7 separate regions of the Homo sapiens genome follow, and regions 1, 3, 4, 5, 6 and 7 are each linked to region 2. The links are contacts of gene promoters, found by promoter capture Hi-C in blood cells and fetal thymus (Javierre and others, 2016). All regions are on one chromosome and are shown on one strand. The core of a region is centred on a gene start or on the middle of the fragment in contact, and the rest is flanking DNA. Distances in the headings are between cores, read along the strand shown.

Evidence for each region. The method cuts DNA at HindIII sites, captures the fragments that hold promoters and counts their contacts. A CHiCAGO score of 5 or more calls a contact.
Region 1: the fragment with the promoter of ERCC8-AS1 here is called in contact with the fragment with the promoter of LINC03122 in region 2 in 6 of 17 cell types (naive CD8 T cells, naive CD4 T cells, activated CD4 T cells and 3 more); the score reaches 9.0 in naive CD8 T cells.
Region 3: a fragment that was not itself captured here is called in contact with the fragment with the promoter of LINC03122 in region 2 in 1 of 17 cell types (neutrophils); the score reaches 5.3 in neutrophils.
Region 4: a contact is called between a fragment that was not itself captured here and the fragment with the promoter of LINC03122 in region 2, in 4 of 17 cell types (naive CD4 T cells, naive B cells, total CD4 T cells and 1 more). The highest score is 7.8, in naive CD4 T cells.
Region 5: a fragment that was not itself captured here is called in contact with the fragment with the promoter of LINC03122 in region 2 in 9 of 17 cell types (naive CD8 T cells, naive CD4 T cells, total B cells and 6 more); the score reaches 6.0 in naive CD8 T cells.
Region 6: a fragment that was not itself captured here is called in contact with the fragment with the promoter of LINC03122 in region 2 in 4 of 17 cell types (total CD8 T cells, total B cells, naive CD4 T cells and 1 more); the score reaches 7.1 in total CD8 T cells.
Region 7: a contact is called between a fragment that was not itself captured here and the fragment with the promoter of LINC03122 in region 2, in 5 of 17 cell types (neutrophils, total CD4 T cells, non-activated CD4 T cells and 2 more). The highest score is 9.8, in neutrophils.

Annotation. Positions count from the first base shown.
Region 1 is chr5:60,915,035-60,918,438 of GRCh38, forward strand. ERCC8-AS1 (ERCC8 antisense RNA 1) reads left to right here and starts at 2,155. Exons shown (of 3, transcript NR_183288.1): 1 at 2,155-2,533; 2 at 3,261-3,393. It overlaps ERCC8 (ERCC excision repair 8, CSA ubiquitin ligase complex subunit), which reads right to left. Exons shown (of 12, transcript NM_000082.4): 4 at 3,231-3,354. The HindIII fragment of the contact is 9,095 bases long and covers 370-3,404 here.
Region 2 is chr5:61,636,348-61,639,405 of GRCh38, forward strand. It overlaps LINC03122 (long intergenic non-protein coding RNA 3122), which reads left to right and starts at 1,434. Exons shown (of 2, transcript NR_126525.1): 1 at 1,434-1,499. The HindIII fragment of the contact is 4,932 bases long and covers 1-3,058 here.
Region 3 is chr5:60,934,597-60,937,643 of GRCh38, forward strand. All of the region lies in intron 1 of ERCC8 (ERCC excision repair 8, CSA ubiquitin ligase complex subunit), which reads right to left. Among named protein-coding and RNA genes, the nearest start is that of ERCC8, 9.0 kb to the right of the region's middle. The HindIII fragment of the contact is 7,783 bases long and covers 1-3,047 here.
Region 4 is chr5:60,969,962-60,973,315 of GRCh38, forward strand. All of the region lies in intron 1 of NDUFAF2 (NADH:ubiquinone oxidoreductase complex assembly factor 2), which reads left to right. Among named protein-coding and RNA genes, the nearest start is that of NDUFAF2, 26 kb to the left of the region's middle. The HindIII fragment of the contact is 3,657 bases long and covers 1-3,354 here.
Region 5 is chr5:60,986,438-60,989,502 of GRCh38, forward strand. All of the region lies in intron 1 of NDUFAF2 (NADH:ubiquinone oxidoreductase complex assembly factor 2), which reads left to right. Among named protein-coding and RNA genes, the nearest start is that of NDUFAF2, 43 kb to the left of the region's middle. The HindIII fragment of the contact is 770 bases long and covers 1,274-2,043 here.
Region 6 is chr5:60,950,336-60,953,577 of GRCh38, forward strand. The region is part of intron 1 of NDUFAF2 (NADH:ubiquinone oxidoreductase complex assembly factor 2); the gene reads left to right. Among named protein-coding and RNA genes, the nearest start is that of NDUFAF2, 6.8 kb to the left of the region's middle. The HindIII fragment of the contact is 1,236 bases long and covers 1,153-2,388 here.
Region 7 is chr5:61,006,484-61,009,614 of GRCh38, forward strand. The region is part of intron 1 of NDUFAF2 (NADH:ubiquinone oxidoreductase complex assembly factor 2); the gene reads left to right. Among named protein-coding and RNA genes, the nearest start is that of NDUFAF2, 63 kb to the left of the region's middle. The HindIII fragment of the contact is 7,028 bases long and covers 1-3,131 here.

The DNA of each region.
Region 1 (3,404 bases), core at 905-3,404, 720 kb before region 2:
CTTGTAATTTTCCATATAATGTCCTTGTAAATTTTGAAATCATGGATATGCTGGCCCCATAAAAAAAGTTTACAAAAGTTCCTTTTTTTCCTCTTGAAGCATTTGTATAAGATTGGTATTATCTCTTTTTTAAGTGTTTAGAATAACTTACTCGTAAAGGCACCTAGGCCTGGAGATGTCAGTCTTCTTCTATTGTCTGTTTTTACTCCTAAGCTCATTTGTTGGTAAGCTTGGAAGTTTCTGTTTTGAGTGCTAGAAATTATATAGAAAAAATTGGGAGAGATTCTGCGTTATGTTATCCTCCTCTAGAGAAGATCCAATCTCTCTTTTGCAGGTAGGAGAGGGAAGATCATATCAATTCAAACATAAAGCTTGTCTGCTATTGTAGAGTTCTGTAATAATTTTCTACTGATGCAGTAAGGAAAGTACTTACTGTACTTAGTAAGTACCACATACTTAGTAATTTATAACACAAATTTATTATCTGTAATAAATCTGTTCTACAAGTTAAAATTCTCACATAGGTCTCAATGGATTATAATCAAGGTGTTGACAGGCTGCATTCCTTTTTGGAGGCTCTAGGAGAGAATACTTTCTCCATCTTCCAGAGACCACCCACATTTCTTGGCTTGTGATCCCCTTAATCCATCTTCAAAGCTAGCAATTTTACATTTCTCTGGCCATTCTCCCAGTCAAATTTACCCCGTCTCCTTCTGCCTCCCACTTCCATTTTTTAAGATTCTTATGATTACATTGGGCCCACTAGGATAATTCAGTATTATCTCCCTGTCTTGAGGTCAGGTGATTGGCAACCTTAATTCCCCTTCGTATGTTCTAGAGATTAGTACATAGACATCTGGGAGCGGGACATGATGCTGCCTACCACAGGCTCCATCTACCTCCTATTTGTACCCATTATTAGAGTATTCCCCTCTAGGTGCCCTAAGAGCCTGGGTGTTTTCCTAGGCCCCCTTCTACTTAGCAAGTACTGCACTGCAATTCTTCTCTCCAGTACCATGTGACTGGGGAAAATTGCTGTTCTTCAAATGTCTTCTGCTTCATTTCTTAAGTCTATGGTCTCGCATAGCTTGGTCAGCAAATATCTCAAAGAAAAAACCAGTGCAAGATGTTAGGCTGATTTCTCTGCATCTCTCTTCTTTCTGTGATCTTGACCCTTTAATTTCTGGCTGTCTTGGCAGCCCACATTCCAATTTCTGTCTCTCTAGCTTTATGAAATTGACTAAAGTCCCACTCATTTATCTGCCTCTTAGAAGCTATCCAATGCCTGTCTTCTCAGTCTCTTGCCTTACTTTAATGACAAATGTCCAAAGAGAAAAAGAGTGTGTGGAAAGTTGAATGCATTTCTGTAAGTGTTCCCCTCTCTAGGATCTGATTCTCAATTCCTAGATTTCTTGGCAGCTTTATAAAACCCTCAACTAGATGCCTGTTTATGCTTTATCTAGCTTTTCTCAATGGAGGTGCTGGTTTGGCTACAAGATATTCCATTATAGTCAGAAGTGAAAGGTCATGACATTCATTTAATTGTTAAAATATACTCTCATTTTCAATGACATGTATTTTAAATAAATATACTTTATTATAAAAATAAATCTGAAATAATAGGACTATTCTAATGTAGCAAGGTCAAAAAAACACATCTATTTAGTTTGAATTATTAGAAGTATATTAAATTTACATTTATATACACAACACTGTTTTGTTTTGCTCACTAGAATCATAATATACTTCATGATTTTATTACTTTTTAGTATGTGGCCAGTTACATACATTGTTAGTCATCCCTAAAGCATTTACTCAGCAGTTACTGTACATAGCACTGAATTTAGTAATGTATAAGACATAGTACTTTCTTTGGGGAAGTAACAATCTAGAACAACAAATAAGACAAACAAGTATGAAAATGATATTATAAAGTAGTATGAGAATGTATTGAAATAGGAATACAGAAAATAGTGCTATAAAGTAAAATAATGGTTAATATTTACTCCAGAAGCTGAAATCACTAAACTGCATGATAGAACTAAAAGGGACCTTAGACACCATCTAGTCTGACACTTTAATTTTATAGCTGAAGAGACCTTTGCTAACAAATTAAATGACTTATCTAAAGCAACAAATCTCATAAGTGGCAGAATGGAACTAGAACTCTGGCATCTACAGTCTTGGCTCAATGTAATTGTAAAAAAAGATGTGACCTTAGGAGAAGGGAAGAGTTGCAAGGGAAAGGGACTTGAGGTAGGGAATACAACAGATTCAAAACACGATCAGTTTAGTTGCAGCAAAGCATTTGTGTTGAAAACTGGTAGAACATAGGATTGAAGGAACAAGGGTTGATGTCATGGAGAACTTGGAATGCCAGGCTGAGTTTAGACAATGGGAATCCCTAGAGGGTTTGGGTAGTGACATGATGAAACTGCTTTATAATAAGATTAATTCTGGGGTAGAACTTAGTGTAGAAAATGTAGAAGGTAAGGCAGTGATTTTAGTAGTCCAGATGTGCAGTAAAGGCAAGGTAAATAGAAAAGAGAGGTATGAGAGAGTTTGAAGAAAGGATTGCTAAGATTTTATGACTAAATTTAATGAGATGTGATCATGTTCAGTTGGGACCATGTTAAGTTTGAAGGGATGACACTACATTTAAGTATAGAGGTACTGTAGAAAAGTAGAGACATATCAGAGTAGAGCTCAGAGAAAAGATTAGCACTCGGAATGTAAATTTGACCAAATGTCATACAAACTATTATCCATTGCTTGTCTTTACTAAGCTACAGTATTAACAGCTTTCTCCTTCAAGTTTTTAGATCAATCAAAGATAAATCCAATTTTCTACTTTAGATTACTAGATCATAGTATTTTTCACAAAGGGATAATAATATTAGCTAACAGTTTTTGAGCATTTACTATATGCTATGTACTGTACTAGGTACTTTACATATTTTGGCTCATTTAATCCTCACAACCATACTATAATCATTATTCCCATTTACAGATGAGAAAGACACACAGAGGTTTGGACATTTGCCCAATGTCATACAGCTGTCAGCAGCACAGCCAGGATATGAACTCAAGTAGTCTAGCTCTTCTTAACCACTGTACTGCTTTCACATCTAACATATATGACATCTCAGCAAATAATCATACTAAAATGGTTTAGGATTAAATTCTCCTTTATCCTACAAAGCAATCTGCAAATGTTTTAATGTACTTACTTGTAATGTATTTGTATCCCATACTTTCAGAGTTTTATCAAATGAGCTTGATGTGAACATGCCAGTGTCATGAGGATACCACTGTACAGTCTCCACACTGTATCTGTGAACATCAGGATGATCTCTACAAAACAGCAATCAAAATTTACATTAACTGACTTATGTGAGTTTCAA
Region 2 (3,058 bases), core at 184-2,683:
TTAGTTGCCATTGTAACAATGTTGAAACATGGTCTTACAGGAGGTGATTAGGTCATGAGGGCTCTGCCCTCATGAATGGATCAAGGCTGTTAATCACAGGAGTGTGTTAGTTATCAAAGGAGTGGGCTCCACATAGAAGAATGAAGTTCTGGTTCCCTTCCTCTCTCTCTCTCGCATGCTCTCTTGTCAGGTAATGCCTTCTGCATGTTATGACACAGCAAGAAGGCCCTCACCAGATGCAGCCCCTTGATCTTGCACTTCCCAGCCTCCAGATCCATAAGACAAATAAACTTCTGTTATTTATAAGTTACCTAGCCTGTGGTATTCTGTTACAGCAGCAGAAAATGGACCAAGATATCTTACAGTTTTGGAGGCCAGAAGTTCACAGTGGGTTATCAGGGCAGGGCGTCTTCAGGAGGCTTGGGGTGGAGGGGGAGGAATCTGTTTTCTTGCCTTTTCCAGCTTCTAGAGGGTGCATGCATTCCTTGACTCATGACCCGACATCACTCCAATTTCTGTTTCCATTGTCACATCCCTGTCATTCTCACTCTTATCTTCCTATCTACCCCCTTATTAAAGACCATGGCAATTACACTGGGCCCACTCAGAAAGTCGATAGTAACATCCCCACTGCAAAACCTTTCATCACCTCTTCAAAGCCCCTTTTGCCATTTGAGGTAACCTATTCACAGCCTTCAGAATTTTTGAAGGAGGGGAGGCATCATTCTGCCTGCTATATACATAGTCTTTGGATCTCAGTTTCCACATCTGTAAAATGGAGAACTACTGTCTTCCCCACAGGGCTATTGAGATGATTGAATGAAGTAATTTCTGCTTATGAATTCCCAGCTCTGTGCCTGCCATGGAGGCAGGCAATTCTGATCCATGTTCTCTTCTGAGTGGGTTGTCAGCTGGAGGCCTTCTACTTCTTTCTAATCCATTAGCTTCTTGCTAGTGCTGCGTCCCCAGGAGGAAATCAGTAAATGCAAGAAATAATTACCTTGACAATGCCTTGCACATAGTAAGTACCCTAAAATAATTCATTGAATTGTTTGTTATTTTGGTGTTAATGGATGGGGATCATCTGATTAAATGTTATTATTTATTAGATCTAAAATATAAATTTGGATTCTTCTGTTGCACTTTTACCTAATTACTCTAAACACCAGTGGGAGAGAGGAATTAGTCACAATACAACTTAAAGAAAAAAATATCTTGCTGTCACTGACTTCTCTCCTTGGTCTGAAAACTTTCTGATTTTGTAGGATGCCACTGACTGCTCTTTCTGCAACTGAAAAATCTCTCAAAGGGCCCTGTCCAGTTAGGTCACACAAAGCCAGGCTGATTATTTAGAGAGAACACAATGCTCCCTCACATGGGGCACAGAGAGGAAGGAATTTTTTTTTTAAGCCAATTCCAGTCCCTGGAGCTGCAAACTGCCCTCAGGGCAAAGAAGCCTGCAGAATAATTGGGAGGAGTCTGGCAGGAAGGAAGCCAAGGTAAGTTAAGCTGCATTTCTGTCTATAGCCAGGGTCTCCATGCCACTTTTTAAACATCCCCTTCTGGGATAAACCTGTATGTCAAGATAAACAATTAAATAATATGCAAGGGCCAAATCAGGAAAACTGCAGCTTCAGCCCTAGAAAACAATGCCAAGAAACACCAGCCTGTCTGCCGCTGCTAAGTCGAGGAGATGGGTTCCCATGATTCCGTAAGAGAACTGGGTCAGGGAGGAGACACTGTCTGTTTAGAATATGCTTCAGGCCCCTAAACTTGGTCGGTTTATGCTTTTTCAGGTTAATAAAGTGGAAAATAACTTTACCTCATCCCTCTATCAAAGCATAGTGCGGCTGCCCCAGAGACCCCTAATACAGCCAGGGATGATGTGTTTGGAAAATGGGGCAAGAGAGGGTCCAAAGATGAGACCCCAAAACTGTGAGGGGGAGGTTGTGTGAGGAGGACAGACCAGAGCTGGAGGGGGACTGTGAGAAGAGGAGTCTGGTTGCTGCCGTCTCTGAAGGGTCTTCCTAGGCTCCCACACCATCATGTCTTGGCCAGCCAAGGCCAAGTGGTTGTGTAAACTTAGGATGGTCATAGAATCCTGAACTACTAGCACATGGGGGTTGAGCTTGTCTGAGGATCTTTTTGAGGAAATGGGGGAAGTATTATTCATGTAATGTGTGACCAGAGTATAGAAATCATGATCCCAGCAGATGGCATGAACGGACACTGAATAGTCCGAATGTCTCATCTCTCTGGACAGAGCAGGCTGGTGGGATCTGGGCAGTCGGGCTGGCTGAGGAGGCATATTTCAGAGTCCAGAGCGAATCCCAGCAGTAATGCCTGGGAACAAAGCCAACTGGTGCCCAGGGCAAGCAGCCCAGTTCTGGGGTCAGGCTACCAAGGTTGTACCAGGCAAGAGAAGAAGGGTGAGCAGGGGAATATTCAAGAGCATCCAAGAATGCAGGGAGCTAATGAGCATGGGAGTGCAGAACTGAGGTCAGAAGGCGTGGCCAATGGAAACTCCCAGCAGCCCTGTGCAGGGGCTCTGCGGATACCTGCTAGCTCTTGGGGCTTAAGCACGCAGTTCGGGACTGGCAGCTCAAAAATGTCTTGAGCAGATTGGCCCCTCAGATAAAGTGGGACACACAGTCTTTTTTTTTTTTTTTTTTTTTTTGAGACGGAGTCTCGCTCTGTCGCCCAGCCTGGAGTGCAGTGGCGCGATCTCTGCTCACTGCAAGCTCCGCCTCCCGGGTTCACGCTATTCTCCTGCCTCAGCCTCCCGAGTAGCTGGGACTACAGGCGCCCGCCACCATGCCCGGCTAATTTTTTTGTATTTGTAGTAGAGACAGGGTTTCACCATGTTAGCCAGGATGGTCTTGATCTCCTGACCTCGAGATCAGCCCTCCTCGGCCTCCCAAAGTGCTGGGATTACAGGCTTGAGCCCGGTTGGGACACGCAGTCTTTAAGAAGTACTTAGGAAGGGCAGTCAGGCTAAGCAGTGGGCTGTACTTTGGGACCCTTTTGCCACAGAACAGAGGGCAGCCTCTGAGTCTGG
Region 3 (3,047 bases), core at 145-2,644, 700 kb before region 2:
GTCGTGTTTGCTTTTCGGTTCTTGGTCATGAAGTCTTTGCCTAGGCCAATGTCTAGAAGGGTTTTATCAATGTTATCTTCTAGAATTTTTATGGCTTCAGGTCTTAGATTTAAGTCTCTGATCCATCTTGAGTTGATTTTTGTAGAAGGTGAGAGATGAAGATCCATTTTCATTTTCCTCCATGTGGCTTGCCAATTGTCCCAGGACTATTTGTTGAATAGGGTGTCCTTTCCCCACTTTAGGTTTTTGTTTGCTTTGCTGAAGATCAGCTAGCTGTAAGTATTTGGCTCTACTTGTGGGTTCTCCACTCTGTTCCGTTGGTCTATATGCCTATTTTTATTACCACTAGCATGCTGTTTTGGTGACTATGGCCTTATAGTATAGTTTGAAGAAGGGTAAGGTGATGCCTCCAGATTTGTTCTTTTTGCTTAGTCTTGTTTTGGCTATGCAGGCTCTTTTTTCCTAGTTCTGTGAAGAATGATGGTGGTATTTGATGGAAGTTGCATTGAATTTGTAGATTGTTTTTGGCAGTATGGTTATTTTCGCAATATTGATTCTACCCATCCAAATGTAGAATTTAGCTGTGTTTCCATTTGTTTGTGTCATCCATGATTTCTTTCAGCAGTGTTTTGTCTTGTAGAGGTCTTTTACCTCCCTGGCTAGGTATATTCCTAAGTATTTTATTTTTCTTTTTTGAAGCTATTATAAAAGGGGTTGAGTTTTTGATTTGATCCTCAGCTTGGTCACTGTTGGTGTATAGCAGAGCTACTGACTTGTGTATGTTAATTTTGTATCCTGAAACTTCGCTGAATTCATTTACCAGTTCTAGGAGCTTTTTGGATGAGTCTTTAGGGTTTTCTAGGTATACAATCATGTTATCAGTAAACAGCAACAGTTTTACTTCCTCTTTACTGATTTGGGTGTCCTTGATTTCTTTCTCTTGTCTGATTGCTCTGGCTGGGACTTCCAGCACTATGTTGAATAGAAGTGGTGAAAGTGGGCATCCTTGTCTTGTTTCAGTTCTCAGGGGGAATGCTTCCCAACTTTTCCCCTTTCAGTATAATGTTGGCTGTGGGTTTGCTATAGATGGCTTTTATTACCTTAAGGTATGTCACTTCTATGCTGATTTTGCTGAGGGTTTTAATCATAATGGGATGCTGGATTTTGTCAGATGCTTTTTCTGCATCTATTGAGATAATCATCTGATTTTTGTTTTTAATTCTGTTTGTGTGGTGTATCACCTTTATGGACTTGCATATGTTAAACCATCCCTGCATTCCTGGTATGAAACCCACTTGATCATGGTGGATTATATTTTTTATATGCTGCTGGATTTGGTTAGCAAGTATTTTGTTGGGGGTTTTTGCATCTATGTTCATCAGGGATGTTGGTCTGCGGTTGTCTTTGTTCTTTCCTGGTTTTGGTATTAGCATGATATTGGCTTCACAGGAGGATTTAGGGAGGAATCCCTCTTTATCTTTTGGAACAGTGTCAATAGGATTGATACAAATTCTTCTTTGAATGTCTGATATAATTCAGCTGTGAGTCTGTACCTAAACTTTTTTTGGTAACTTTTTTATTACCATTTCAATCTCATTGCTTGTTGCTGGTCTGTCCAGGGTTTCTATTTTTTCCTGGTTTAATCTAGGAGGGTTGCGTATTTCCAGGAATTTATTCATCTCCTCTAAGTTTTCTAGTTTATGTGCATAAAGATGTTGATAGTAGCCTTGAATGATCTTTTGTATTTCTGTAGTAAGGGTTGTAATATCTCCCATTTTGTTTCTAATTGAATTTACCAGATCTTCTCTCTTCTTTTGTTGGTTAATCTAGCTAATGGTCTATCAATTTTATTTATCTTTTGAAAGAACCAGCTTTTTGTTGCATTTATCTTTTGTGTTTTGTTGTTGTTGTCCTTTCAATTTCATTTATTTCTGCTCTGATCTTGGTTATTTTTTTTCTTCTGTTGGGTTTGGGTTTGGTTTGCTGTTTCTCCAGTTCCTTGAGGTATGCCCTTAGATTGTCTGTCTGTGCTGTTTCAGACTTCCTGAGGTATGCATTTAATGATATGAACTTTCATCTTAGCACCACTTTTGCTGTATCCCAGAGGTTTTGACAGGTTGTGTCACTATTATCATTCAGTTCAAAGAATTTTTTAATTTCCATCTTGATGTCAGGTATTCTATGTCAATTTTTTGTATTTATGTGAATCCTTTTCCCCTAAGGTGTGTGATCCTTTGGGGGTGTTAAACAACCTTGTTTTATCATATTACCAGAATTGTTTTTCTGATTACTTCTCATTTGGGTAGACTATGTCAGAGGGAAGATCTGGGACTCAAGGGCTGCTCTGCAGATTCTTTTGTCCCACGAGGTGCTCCCTTGATTTGGTGCTCTCCTCCTTCCCCTAAGGTTGGGGCTTCCTGAGAGCCAAACTGCAGTGATTGTTATTTCTCTTTTGGATCTAGCCAACCAGCAGAGCTACTGGGGTCTGGTTGGTACAGGGCAGTTTCTGCAAAGAGTCCTGTGATGTGATCTGTCTTCAGGTCTCTCAGCCGTGGATACCAGCACCGGCAACCGTAGAGGCAGCAGGGGAGTGAAGTGGCCTCTATGAGGGCCCTTGGTTGTATTTTTGTTAAATGTACTGGTTTTGTGTTGGTTGGCCTCCAGCCAGGAGGTGGCACTTTCAAGAGGGCATCAGCTGCAGTAGTATAGAAAGGATACATGCTTGCCCTAGGGTTAGGTGGTGGGCAGGCCGATAGAGCTCCCAGGAGATTATGTCTTTTGTCTTCAGCTACCAGGGCAGGTAGAGAAAAACCATCAGGTGGGAGCAGGGTTAGGCATGTCTGAGCTCAGATCTCCTTGGGTGAGGCTTGCCGCTGCTGCTGTGGTAGATGGGGGCATGGTTCCCAGGCCAATGGAGTTATGTTCCCAGGGGGATTATGGCTGCCTCTGCTGTGTCACACAGGTCACCAAGGAAGTTGGGGAAGGCCGGCAGCCAAAGGCTTCACCCAGCTCCCATGCAACCTACAGCCTAAAGGGCTGGTTTCACT
Region 4 (3,354 bases), core at 331-2,830, 670 kb before region 2:
ACCATTTATTGAAGAGAATGTCATTTCCCCACTGTGTGTTCTTGGCACTTTTGTTGAAAATGAGTTCACTGTAGGTGTATGGATTTATTTATGGGTTCTCTATTCTGTTCCACTGACCTATGTATCTGTTGTTATGCCAGTACCATGCCATTTTGGTTATTATATCTCTGTAGTATAATTTGAAATCAAGTAACATGATTCCTCCAGTTTTGTTCATCTTGCTTAGAATAGCTTTGGCTATTCAGGGTATTTTATGGTTCTATATACATTTTAGGATTGTTTTTCTGATTTCTGTGAAGAATGTCATTGGTATTTTGATAGGGATTGCATTAAATCTGTAGATTGCTTTGGATAGTATGGACAGTTTAACAGAATTGATTCTTCCCATCTATGAACATGGAATATCATTCTATTTTTTTGCATGTGTGTCCTCTTCAATTTGTTTCATCAGTGTTTTATAGTTTTCATTGTAGACATCTTTCACTTTTTTGGTTAAGGTAATTTTTAGGTATTTTAGTTGTACTTATTAATGGGATTTCTTGATTTCTCTTGAAGATTGTTTGCTACTGATTTTTGTATGTTGATTCTGTATCTCACAACTTAATTTATTTATCAATTTCAATAGTTTTTTAGTGGAGTATTTAGGTTATTCCAAATATAAGATCATATCCTCTGCAAACAAGAATAATTTGACGTCTTCCTTTTCAATTTGGATGCCCTTTCTTTCTCTTGCCTGATTGCTTTAGCTAGGACTTCCAGTACGTGTTAAATAACAGTGGTGACAGTGGGCATCCTTGTTGTATTCCAGATCTTAGAGGAAAGGCTTTTAGTTTTTCTCCATTCTCTCCATTATTGAGATGTAAAGTTCAATATGTAGGCTGTTAAACTCTTCATCATTGATTATGTTATTTGGTTGTTTATATCCTTATATATATATTTTTGTCTACATAATTTGTCTCATATTAAGGAGGATTATTTTAAAGTTTTCTTTTTTTACTGTATTTTTATCTGTGTTCTACCAATATCATTTGTGTTTGCTTCATTGAGTGGTGGTTCTGTTATTTATTGAATAGTTATTTATAATTTGTCTTTATTGTGAACTGTGGCTGAAAATTTTGGGTCATGCTTAATGCTCTCTAATTCTATTTTAATATTTGAATCACAACCTCTATTTCTTTTTTCGTTTTTTTTTTAAATTGTACTTTAAGTTCTAGGGTACATGTGCACAATGTGCAGGTTTGTTACATATGTATACATGTGCCATGTTGGTGTGCTGCACCCATTAACTTGTCATTTACATTAGATATATCTTTTTTCTTTCTTTCTTTTTTTTTTTTCTTTTTTGAGACAGAGTCTGGCTCTTTCGCCCAGGCTGGAGTGCAGTGGCTGATCTCAGCTCACTGCAAGCTCCGCCTCCCGGGTTCACGCCATTCTCCTGCCTCAGCCTCTCGAGTAGCTGGGACTGCAGGCACCCGCCACCGTGCCCGGCTAATTTTTTTGTATTTTTAGTAGAAACAGGGTTTCACCGTGTTAGCCAGGATGGTCTCGATCTCCTGACCTCGTGATCCGCCCGCCTCGGCCTCCCAAAGTGCTGGGATTACAGGCGTGAGCCACCGCGCCCGGCATATCCCCTAATGCTATCCCTCCCCCCTCCCCCAACCCCATGACAGGCCCCGGTGTGTGGTGTTCCCCACCCTGTGTCCAAGTGTTCTCATTGTTCAGTTCCCACCTATGAGTGAGAACATGCGGTGTTTGGTTTTCTGTCCTTGTGTTAGTTTGCTGACAATGATGGTTTCCAGCTTCATCCATGTCCCTACAAAGGACATGAACTCATCCTTTTTTATGGCTGCATAGTATTCCATGGTGTGTATGTGCCACATTTTCTTAATCCAGTCTATCATTGATGGACATTTGGCACAACCTCTATTTCTTAATATTTGGCTGATACAACTTTGCCCATTCTTTTTGCCCCCCTCCCTTTTTTTTTTTTTTTTTTTCTGAGACGGAGTCGTGCTCTGTCACCCAGGCTGGAGTGCAGTGGTGTGATCTAAGCTCACTGCAACTGCCACCTCCCGAGTTCAAGCAATTCTCCTGCCTCAGCCTCCTGAGTAGCTAGGATTACAGGCATACGCCACCGAGCCTGGCTAATTTTTGTATTTTTAGTAGAGATGGGGTTTCACCATGTTGGTCAGGCTGGTTTCAAACTCCTGACCTCGTGATCTGCCTGCCTCGGCCTCCCAAAGTGCTGAGATTACAGGCATGAGCCACTGTGCCTGGCCCATTTTTTTTTTTTTTTAATTCTTAGCATTTGATATGGTTTGGCTCTGTGTCCCCACTCAAATCTCACCTTTAGTTGTAATCTCTAAATCCCCACTTGTCAAGGGCGGGATCAAGTGGAGATAGTTGAATCACGGGGGTGGTTTCCCCAATCCTGCTCTTGTGGTGATGAGTGAGTTCTCATGAGATCTGACAGTTTTGTAAGGGACTTCCCCCTCTTCACTCACCACTCATTCTCTCTCTTGCCACCCTGTGAAGAGGTGCCTTCTGCCATGATTATATCTTTTCTGAGGCCTCCCAGGTATGCGGAACTGTGAGTCAATTCAACCTCTTTTCTTTATAAATTACCCAGTCTTGGGTATTCCTTCATAGCAGTGTGAGAACAGACTAATACAGCATTTTTAAATCACTTGTTTTAGGTGTGTTTCTTGTGTACAGGTTATATTAGAGTCTTGATTTGTCAGCCAAGTTTTTAATCTCTTTTTTTAAAGTAGAAAAACTAAGCACATTCTCATTTACTGATATGTGTATTCTGTTTTTTTTTTTTTTGGTTTTCTTTTTTTTTTTTGCTATGTTTTAAAATTTCTCATGGTATATAGGAAGGTTTGTAGTTTTGTATTTACCTCTGTATTTCTACCTTTTTTAATGCCCGTATTTCTTGGTTTCTTATTCTATTACTATCTCATTTGTTAGTTTCTAATGATATCCTTTAATTCTCACCCATTTTTTTTACCATAACCAAAGAGCTTATACCCCTTTTCTTTCTCCTTTTAACTTTGTCTCCTAATGTTTAGTTGCATTTTTGACTTCTTTTAAAATATATTTAATACATAGTATATAACATATAATTAGGTTGTCTTGCACTCTGATCCTTGCCTTTGTTTTAGACTTAGATCTCTAATTAAAGGTATTGAATGCTCACCATTAGTCTTTTTGCTAAAGTTGCCCCAGTTAACACTTGGTTGGATGCAGCTTACTTTTTGGTAGATTCCTCAAGAAGTGTTCCTGAGTATAGAGTTCCCTGAGTTCATTCATGTCTGTAGTCTTGAATCTTCATGCTTGGATGTAACATCCTTG
Region 5 (3,065 bases), core at 409-2,908, 650 kb before region 2:
CATACTAGAATCTCTGGGGCACAGATATGGCAGCATTAAGAGGGAAATTTCTGGCACTATACACTCACATCAAAAATTAGAAAGTTCTCAACCTAATGTCACAACTAGAAAAACTAGACAGGTAAGGGCAAACCAACCTCAAAGCTAGCAGAAGACAAAAAAAATAACCAAAGTCAGAGCTGAACTGAAGGAGATTGAAACATGAAAAACTGGCCAGGCATGGTGGCTCATGCCTATAATCCCAGCGCTTTGGGAGGCTGAGGTGGGCAGATCACAGGGTCAGGAGTTTAAGACCAGCCTGGCCAACATAGTGAAACCCCATCTGTACTAAAAAAATACAAAAAATAAGCCAGGCGTGGTGGCGGGTGCCTGCAATCCCAGCTATTCAGGAGGCTGAGGCAGGAGAATCGCCTGATTCCAGGAGGTGGAGGTTGCAGTGAGCTGAGATTATGCCATTGCACTCTAGCCCGGGCAATAATAGTGTGAGACTCTTTTGTCTCAAAAAAAAAAAAAAAAAAGAAACATGGAAAACCATACAAGGACCAATGAATCCAGGAGATAGTTTTTTTGAAAGAATTAATAATATAGACTGTTAAGTACACAAAGAAGAAAAGAGAGAAGATCCAAATAAACAAAATTAGAATTGAGAAAGAGAATGTTACCGCTGACCCCACAGAAATACAGATAACCATCAGAGACTACTATGAGTACCTCTATATATACAAACTAGAAACTCCAGAAGAAATGGCTAAATTCCTGGACACATACATTCTCCCAAGACTGAGCCAGGAAGAAATTGAATCCCTGAACAGACCGATAATGAGCTCTAAAACTGAATCAGTAATAAATAGCCTACCAATCCCCCATAAAAGCCCAGGATGAGAAAGATTCTTGGCTGAATTCCACCAGATGTATAAAGAAGAGCTGGTACCATTCCTACTGAAGATATTCCAAAAAATTGAGAAGGGATTTCTTCCCAACTCATTCTATGAAACCAGTGTTATTCTGATACCAAAATTGGCAGAGATACAACAACAACAATAGCAATAAGAGTTCAGGCCAATATCTTTCATGAACATAAATGCAAAAATCCTCAGCAAAATACTAGCAAATCCAATCCAGCAGCATATCAAAATGGTAATCCACCATGATCAAGTAGGCTCTATCCCTGGGATGCAAAGTTGGCTCAAAATACACAAATCAATAAATGTGATTCATTACATAATAGAACTAAAGACAAAAACCATGTGATTATCTCAATAGATGCAGAAAAAGCTTTTGATAAAAATTGAACATCCTTTCATGTTAAAAACTCAATAAATTAGGCATTGAAGGAATGCAAATAATAAGAGCCAACTATGACAAACCCTCAGCCAACATCATACTGAATGGGCAAAGCTGGAAGCATTCTTCTTGAAAACTGGCAAAAGACCAGAATGCCCTCTCCTACCACTCCTATTAAACATAATACTGGAAGTTCCAGCCAGGGCAATCAGGCAAGAAAAAGAAATAAAAGGCACCCAAATAGGCAAAGAGGAAGTCAGACTATCCGTTTGCAGAAAACATGGTTCTATATTTAGAAAACCCCATACTCCTGGCCAAAAAGCAGCTTAAGCAACTTGAGCTGATAAACAACTTTAGCAAAGTTTCAGGATACAAAATCAATGTACAAAAATTAGTAGCATTTCTTTACACCAACATGCAAGTGAAGAGCCGTATCAGGAATGCAATCCCATTCACAATTGCCAGAAAAAGAATAAAATACCTAGGAGTACAGCTAACTAGGGAGGTAAAAGATCTCTACAATGAGAATTACAAACACTGCTCAAAGAAATTAGAGATGATACAAAGAAATGAGAAAACATTTCGTGTTCACTGATAGGAAGAACCCAATATTTTTTAAAATGGCCATACTCCTCAACACAATTTGCGATTCAGTGTGATTCTAATCAAACTACCAATAGCATTATTCACAGAACTAGAAAAAAACTTTTAAAATTCATATGGAACCAAAAAAGAGCTCAAGTTGCCAAAGCAATCCTAAGCTTAAAGAACAAACCTGGAGGCATAATGTTACCCGACTTCAAACTACACCCACAGGGCTGTAGTAACCAAAACAGTATGGTACTGGTACAAAAACAGGCACATAAACCAATGGAACAGAATAGAGAGCCCAGAAATAATGCCACACACCTACAACCATCTGATCTTTGACACAGCTGGCAAAAACAAGCAATGGGGAAAGGACTCCCTATTCTACAAATGATGCTGGGATAACTGGCTAGGTATATGTGGAAGACTGAAACTGGACCCCTTTCTTACATCATATATAAAAGCCAACTCAAGAATATAACGCTGTAAATGCAAAATCTAAAACTATAATACCCTGGAAGATGACCTAGGCAATACCATTCTGGACATAGGAACTGGCAAATATTTTATGACAAAGACACCAAAAGCAATTTCAACCAAAGCAAAAATTGAGAAATGGGATCTAATTAAACTAAAGAGCTTCTGCACAGCAAGAGAAACTATCAACAGAGTAAACAGACAATCTACAAAATATGAGAAAATATTTGCAAACTGTGCTTCTGACAAAGGTCTACTATCCAGAATCTGTAAGGAAAATTAAAATTAAACAAATTTTATAAGCAAAACCCAAACACATGAACAGATGTTTTTCAAAAGAAGACATACATGCAGCCAACAAGCATATGAAAAAATGCTGTACGTCAGTAATAATTAGAGAAATGCAAATCAGAACCACAGCGTGATATCTTATATTAGTCAGAATGGCTATTATTTTAAAAATCAAAAAATTACAGATGCTGGAGGGGTTATAGAGAAGAGGGAACACCTATACACTGCTGGTAGGAGTGTAAATTAGTTCACCCATTGTGGAAATCAGTGTGGCAATTCCTCAAAGAACTTAGAACTACTTTTAAACCCAGCCATCACATTATTGGGTATATACACCAAGGAATATAAATCGTTCTACCATAAAACATATGCACATGTATGTTCATTGCAGCACTATTCACAATAGCAAAGACATGGAGTCAAGC
Region 6 (3,242 bases), core at 521-3,020, 690 kb before region 2:
GCCACTATGCCTGGCTAATTTTTTATTTTTAGGAGAGATGGGGTTCGCCATGTTGGACAGGCTGGTCTCGAACTCCTGACCTCAGATGATCTGCCCACCTTGGCCTCCTAAAGTGCTGGGATTACAGGCATGAGCCACCACGCCTGGCCACTACTCTTTCATTGTTAAGTGTGGTGTTAGCTATAATTTTTTAGATACCTTTTATTAAATTAACAAAGTTCCCTGTCTGTACCTCGTTTGCTGAGCGCTTTCTCTTATGAATCGATGTTGAATTTTGTCAATTTTGTCACATGCTTGCTTGCTGGGTTTTTTTTTTTTTTTTGGTTCTGTTGGAATGATCATGTGGTGAATTTATACTGATTGACTTTTAAAAATTAATAGACTTTATTTTTTAGAGCAATTTTAGGTTTACAGAAAAATTGAATGGAAACTACTCAGATATTCCTGCTCCCCCAATGCAGTTTCTCCCATTGTTAATATCTTGCATTAATGTGTCCTCACTTCCTCCCTTCCTGCTACCAAACCCCTAGCAACCACTGATCTTTTTACTGTCTCTGTAGTTTTGCCTTTTCCAGAATGTCATGTAGTTGCTGTCATATAGTATGTGATCTTTTCAGACTGGCTTCTTTCACTTAGTAATATGCACTTAAGTTTCCTCCATGTTTTTTTGTGGCATAATAGCTCCTTTCTTTTTATTTATTTATTTATTTTTGAGACAGAGTCTCACTCTGTCGCCCAGGCTGGAGTGCAGTAGTGCGATATTGGCTCGGTGCAACCTCTGCCTCTCAGGTTCAAGTGATTCTCCTGCCTCAGCCTCTCGAGTAGCTGGGATTACAGGTGCCCACCACCATGCCCAGCTAATTTTTGTAATTTTAGTAAGAGACAGGGTTTCGCCATATTGGCCAGGATGGTTTTGAACTCCTTACCTCAGATGATCTGCCTGCCTCAGCGTCCCAAAGTGCTGGGATTACAGGAGTAAACCAGATGCCTGGCCATCTACTTTCTTTTTATTGCTAAATAATATTCTGTTGTATGGTTAGAACCACTGTTTATTCGTTTGCATATTGAAGGACATCTTGGTTGCTTCCAAGTTTTGGCGATTATGAATAAAGCTGCTATAAATATTCCTGTGCAGTTTTTTGAGTGGACATAAGCTTTTAACTCATTTGGCATTGATTGATTGTTGAATGTCTTGAATATTGCATTTGTCAGGTAAACTCCACTTGGTCATGATGCATTATCCTTTTTATATATTATTGGATTGATGTGCTTTCATTTTATTGAAGAATTTTGTTTTCTGTTCTTCAGGATCTTAATTTCTTCCTTTTAATGTGTTTTCTAGGTTTGTTTTTAGGTTAATGCTGGCCTTATAAAGTGAGTTAAATTTTGTTTCCTTCTTTTGAATTTTCTGGAAGCGTTTGTGAAGAATTTGTATTACTTATTTCTTACATGTTGGATATAAATTGCCTGTGAAGCCATCTGGTCCTGGAGTTTTCCTTGTTGGAAGGCTGGAATTAAAAATTCAAAGATAATAAATTTTTAACCTACAAATTTAATATCTTTGGCAGGTATAAGACTACTCAGGCTATCTATTTTGTCTTAGGTGAGTTTTGGTAGTTTTTATCTTTTGAGTAGTTTGCCCTTTTTATCTAGTATGTTGAATTTACAGTCATAAAGTTGTAATACCTCTTCATTATCTTTTTAATGTTTGTACAATTTGTAGTGATATCCTCTCTTTCCTGAATTGATAATTTGTGGCTATTGTTTTCTTGGCCTATCTGATGAGTGGTTTGTTAATTTTATTGATCATTTTAGAGAATTAGCTTTGAGTTTCACTGATTTTTCTCTGTAAGTTTTTTCCATTGGTTTCAGAACTTATCGCTTTCTCTTATATCGTCATCGTTTTCTTCTGCTTTCAATTGGTTTTATATGTTCTTCTAGTTTCTTAAGGTGGCCACTGAGATCATAATTTGATCTGTTTATTTTTTAATATACATTTTTAATGTTAAAATTTCTTGTAGGCACTGTTTTGGCCACATTTCACAAATTTTTATCTTAAAATTTTCATGTAACGAATATATTTTCTTATTTATTTTTTCCTATATGACCTATGTATTTATTTAGAAGTATGTTCTTTACAAATATTTGGAGATTTTCTAGATGGAGATTTTCATTGACTTCTAGTTTAATTCTATTATATTCAGAGAACATATTTTATATGATTTCAGTTATTTTAAATGTATTGTAAATTGTTTTATGGCCTAGAGTATGGTGCAATTTGGTAAATCTTCTGTTTGTGCTTGAGAAAAATGTATTATCTATTTTGCTATTTGGGGTTGAATGTTCTGTAAATGTCAGTTAGCCCAAGCTGGTTGATAGAGTTGTTCAAGCTTTGTATATTCACACTGATTTTTTTTGTACTTATTCTATCAATTATTGAAAAAAGTATGTTACAGTCTCTGAATACAAGTTTACATTTGTCTTTTACTCTTTCCAGTTCTATCAGTTTTTGCTTCATGTATTTTCAATACCTATTGTTAGGTCCTTACACATTTATAATTGAAAGATAATAATACAAATTACCCAAAATAAAACACAGAGAGAAAAAAGACCAGAAAAAAAAGAGCAATTAGCAAGCTGTGGGATACCCCCAAGTGGCCTAATATATGTAATTGGATACCATGAGGGGTAAAGGTCATTTTGCAGGTCAAAAATATTTGAAGAAATAATGGCCAAAAATATTCCAAATTTGATGAAAACTATAAACCCACAGACCCCAAATCATCAACAAATTCCAAAAACAAAAAGTGTAGAAAACCACACCAAGGCATATTATTATCAAATTGCTCAAAGCCATTGATAAAGAGAAAATCTTTATAGAGCTAGAGAAAAAGATACATTACTTACAGAGGAAGAAAGACGAAAATGAGTTCAGGGTTTTTTTTAAAACAAACAATATAAGCTGGAAGACAGTGGAACAATATCTTTAAAGTACCAAAAGAGAAAGTCTGCCAACCTATAATTTTGTACACAACAAAAATACCTTGTTAAAACAAAGGCAAATGAAGGTTTTTTCAGACATACTGTACCTGAAAGAATTCATTACACAGAGACCATAATTCCCTTTCCTCTTCCCTCTACTGGATATCTTATTCCCTGGATTCTGGGCCTTTCACCACAGTTTTGTAGCATATATGCTTCAGTAGCCTCCTGAGAAGAGGTTCAAGGCGGATAAAGTTTTT
Region 7 (3,131 bases), core at 225-2,724, 630 kb before region 2:
CATTGGTAGCTTGATGGGGATGGCATTGAATCTATAAATTACCTTGGGCAGTGTGGCCATTTTCACGATATTGATTCTTCCTACCCATGAGCATGGAATGTTCTTCCATTTGTTTGTATCCTCTTTTATTTCATTGAGCACTGATTTGTAGTTCTCCTTGAAGAGGTCCTTCACATCCCTTGTAAGTTGGATTCCTAGCTATTTTATTCTTTTTAAGCAATTGTGAATTAGAAAACTGTGTTTAAAACATAGCGTATTGTTACCAGGGATGTGTCTAGAGAATGTATTGCAGTACAGGTATTACCATCTAGTTAGTTAATATTGTAATGAAAACTTGAGCTTTTATTTACTTAAAATTAATGATCATTTTGGTCAAGGCGTTTGAATAACCAGAGCTTCCAAAAATACTAGTGGCACTAAGTCTCTGGTTTTGGAACAATATAGTAGAAAGAAGCTGTCAATATTTATCTCTTAAAGAACGGATTTTTTTTCTTGTAAATTTGTTTGAGTTCATTGTAGATTCCGGATATTAGCCCTTTATCAGATGGGTAGGTTGCAAAAATTTTCTCCCATTTTGTAGATTGCCTGTTCATTCTGATGGTAGTTTCTTTTGCTGTGCAGAAGCTCTTTAGTTTAATTAGATCCCATTTGTCAATTTTGGCTTTTGTTGCCATTGCTTTTGGTGTTTTAGACATGAAGTCCTTGCCCATGCCTATGTCCTGAATGGTAATGCCTAGGTTTTCTTCTAGGGTTTTTATGGTTTTAGGTCTAACGTTTAAGTCTTTAATCCATCTTGAATTAATTTTTGTATAAGGTGTAAGGAAGGGATCCAGTTTCAGCTTTCTACATATGGCTAGCCAGTTTTCCCAGCACCATTTATTAAATAGGGAATCCTTTCCCCATCTCTTGTTTTTGTCAGGTTTCTCAAAGATCAGATAGTTGTAGATATGTGGCGTTATTTCTCAGGGCTCTGTGAAAACAAACAACCCCATTAAAAAGTGGGCAAAGGATATGAACAGACACTTCTCAAAAGAAGACCTTTATGCAGCCAAAAAACATATGAAAAAATGATCGCCATCACTGGCTATCAGAGAAATGCAAATCAAAACCACAACGAGATACCATCTCACACCAGTTAGAATGGCAGTCATTAAAAAGTCAGGAAACAACAGGTGCTGGAGAGGATGTGGAGAAATAGGAACACTTTTACACTGTTGGTGGGACTGTAAACTAGTTCAACCATTGTGGAAGTCAGTGTGGCAATTCCTCAAGGATCTAGAACTAGAAATACCATTTGACCCAGTCATCCCATTACTGGGTATATACCCAAAGGACTATAAGTCATGCTGCTATAAAGACACATGCACACGTATGTTTATTGCGGCACTATTCACAATAGCAAAGAGTTGGAACGAAGCCAAAGGTCCAACAATGATAGACTGGATTAAGAAAATGTGGCACATATACACCATGGAATACTATGCAGCCATAAAAAATGATGATTTCATGTCCTTTGTAGGGACATGCATGAAATTGGAAATCATCATTCTCAGTAAACTATCGCAAGAACAAAAAACCAAACACCGCATCTTCTCACTCACAGGTGGGAATTGAACAATGAGAACACATGGACAGAGGAAGGGGAACATCACACTCTGGGGACTGTTGTGGGGTGGGGGGAGGGGGGAGGGATAGCTTTAGGAGATATACCTAATGCTAATTGACGAGTTAATGGGTGCAGCGCACCAGCATGGCACATGTATACATATGTAACTAACCTGCACATTGTGCACATGTACCCTAAAACTTAAAGTATAATAAAAAAAAAGAATGGATTTTCACATCTCTCAAACCTTGATAATTGATGTTACTACAAAGAATAGTCTTTGTAAGAAAGATTAACAAGCAAGTGTATACAGATAGCAAAGGCATTTATTCACATTCTTAGTTAATAACATCCAAAATTTGTATGGAGCTTTACAGCCTTTAGAATAGTTCATCCACACCTTATTTCTCTCAATGTTCAAAACAATCTCAAGGTCTTAGGAAAATTGCTTAAATGCACTGAGCTTCAATTTCATTCCCTATAAAATGCGGATGATTTCACCTATCTTGATGCATTGTGAGTAGTAAATGAGTATGTAAAGGGCTTGGTGTATCAGTATTATTATTACCACCTTTATCTTTACTTTCATCAACCATTTGTGGCACATATTGGCTGGTTAATTTAGTTAATAAGTGACAGAACCCGAATGTAAACATAGATCCTTCTCATTCCAAATCTTATGTTTGTTTCTTTCTATTATCTCTTCCATAGAGGCAGATCATTTTAAGCTCTGTAGAAGAAATATTGACTAGGGCCTTGAAGGATGAGGTTTGCTTTTGTAGCATCCAAGGCTTTTTATGAACTAACCGCCTTCCTTGTCTGTCTTATCAGTTTTTCTTCTTTTATTATTTATTTTCCCAAGTGTGTCTTCTATTTGAGGTTCTTAATTCCTGCCGTTTTTGTCTTTGTACATTATCATTTCTAGGGGGCATGTAAATCTTTTACTGTGGTCTTTTCTACTAATCCGTATCTATTATTGTTATCTTCATAGTTTACAGTGATTTCCTACATTTTTTTAAAAAATTGAAAATCGAAAGACAACATTCTGATATTTTCTACATTTTGTAAAAACTCTTTAACAGCGTTTTCAGATCACAGAATATTTTAGGTGTTATAAGTTAAATGTATTCTGAAGCCAAATAAGTTGAGGGAACAATTTGTTGAACAGAGTTAAATAGGTTATCTAACAAAATGCAGAACCTATTGGAGCATTTAATTTGCTATTGTGCACTGGAATTCTCCAAGAGGGAAAGTAGAGGTATAGGGGTATAGTAGGCAGGATATGGTATGTAACATCTCCTAATCTCACCAAGGAATCAACCCCCTCCCTCAAGAGCATCTCAAGAGATTAATTCATTGGACTGCCCAGATTTATAGCAATGATACTTAGAATACTCTTGACCTGTGACATCAGAATTAAACTAAATCAATTAAATTTAAAGTTACTTTTTAAATTTCAAGATTCCTTGGACCTACCAGTCCTACTAAAACAGAATCTTTGAGAAGTGAAATAAAATGTCTTGTA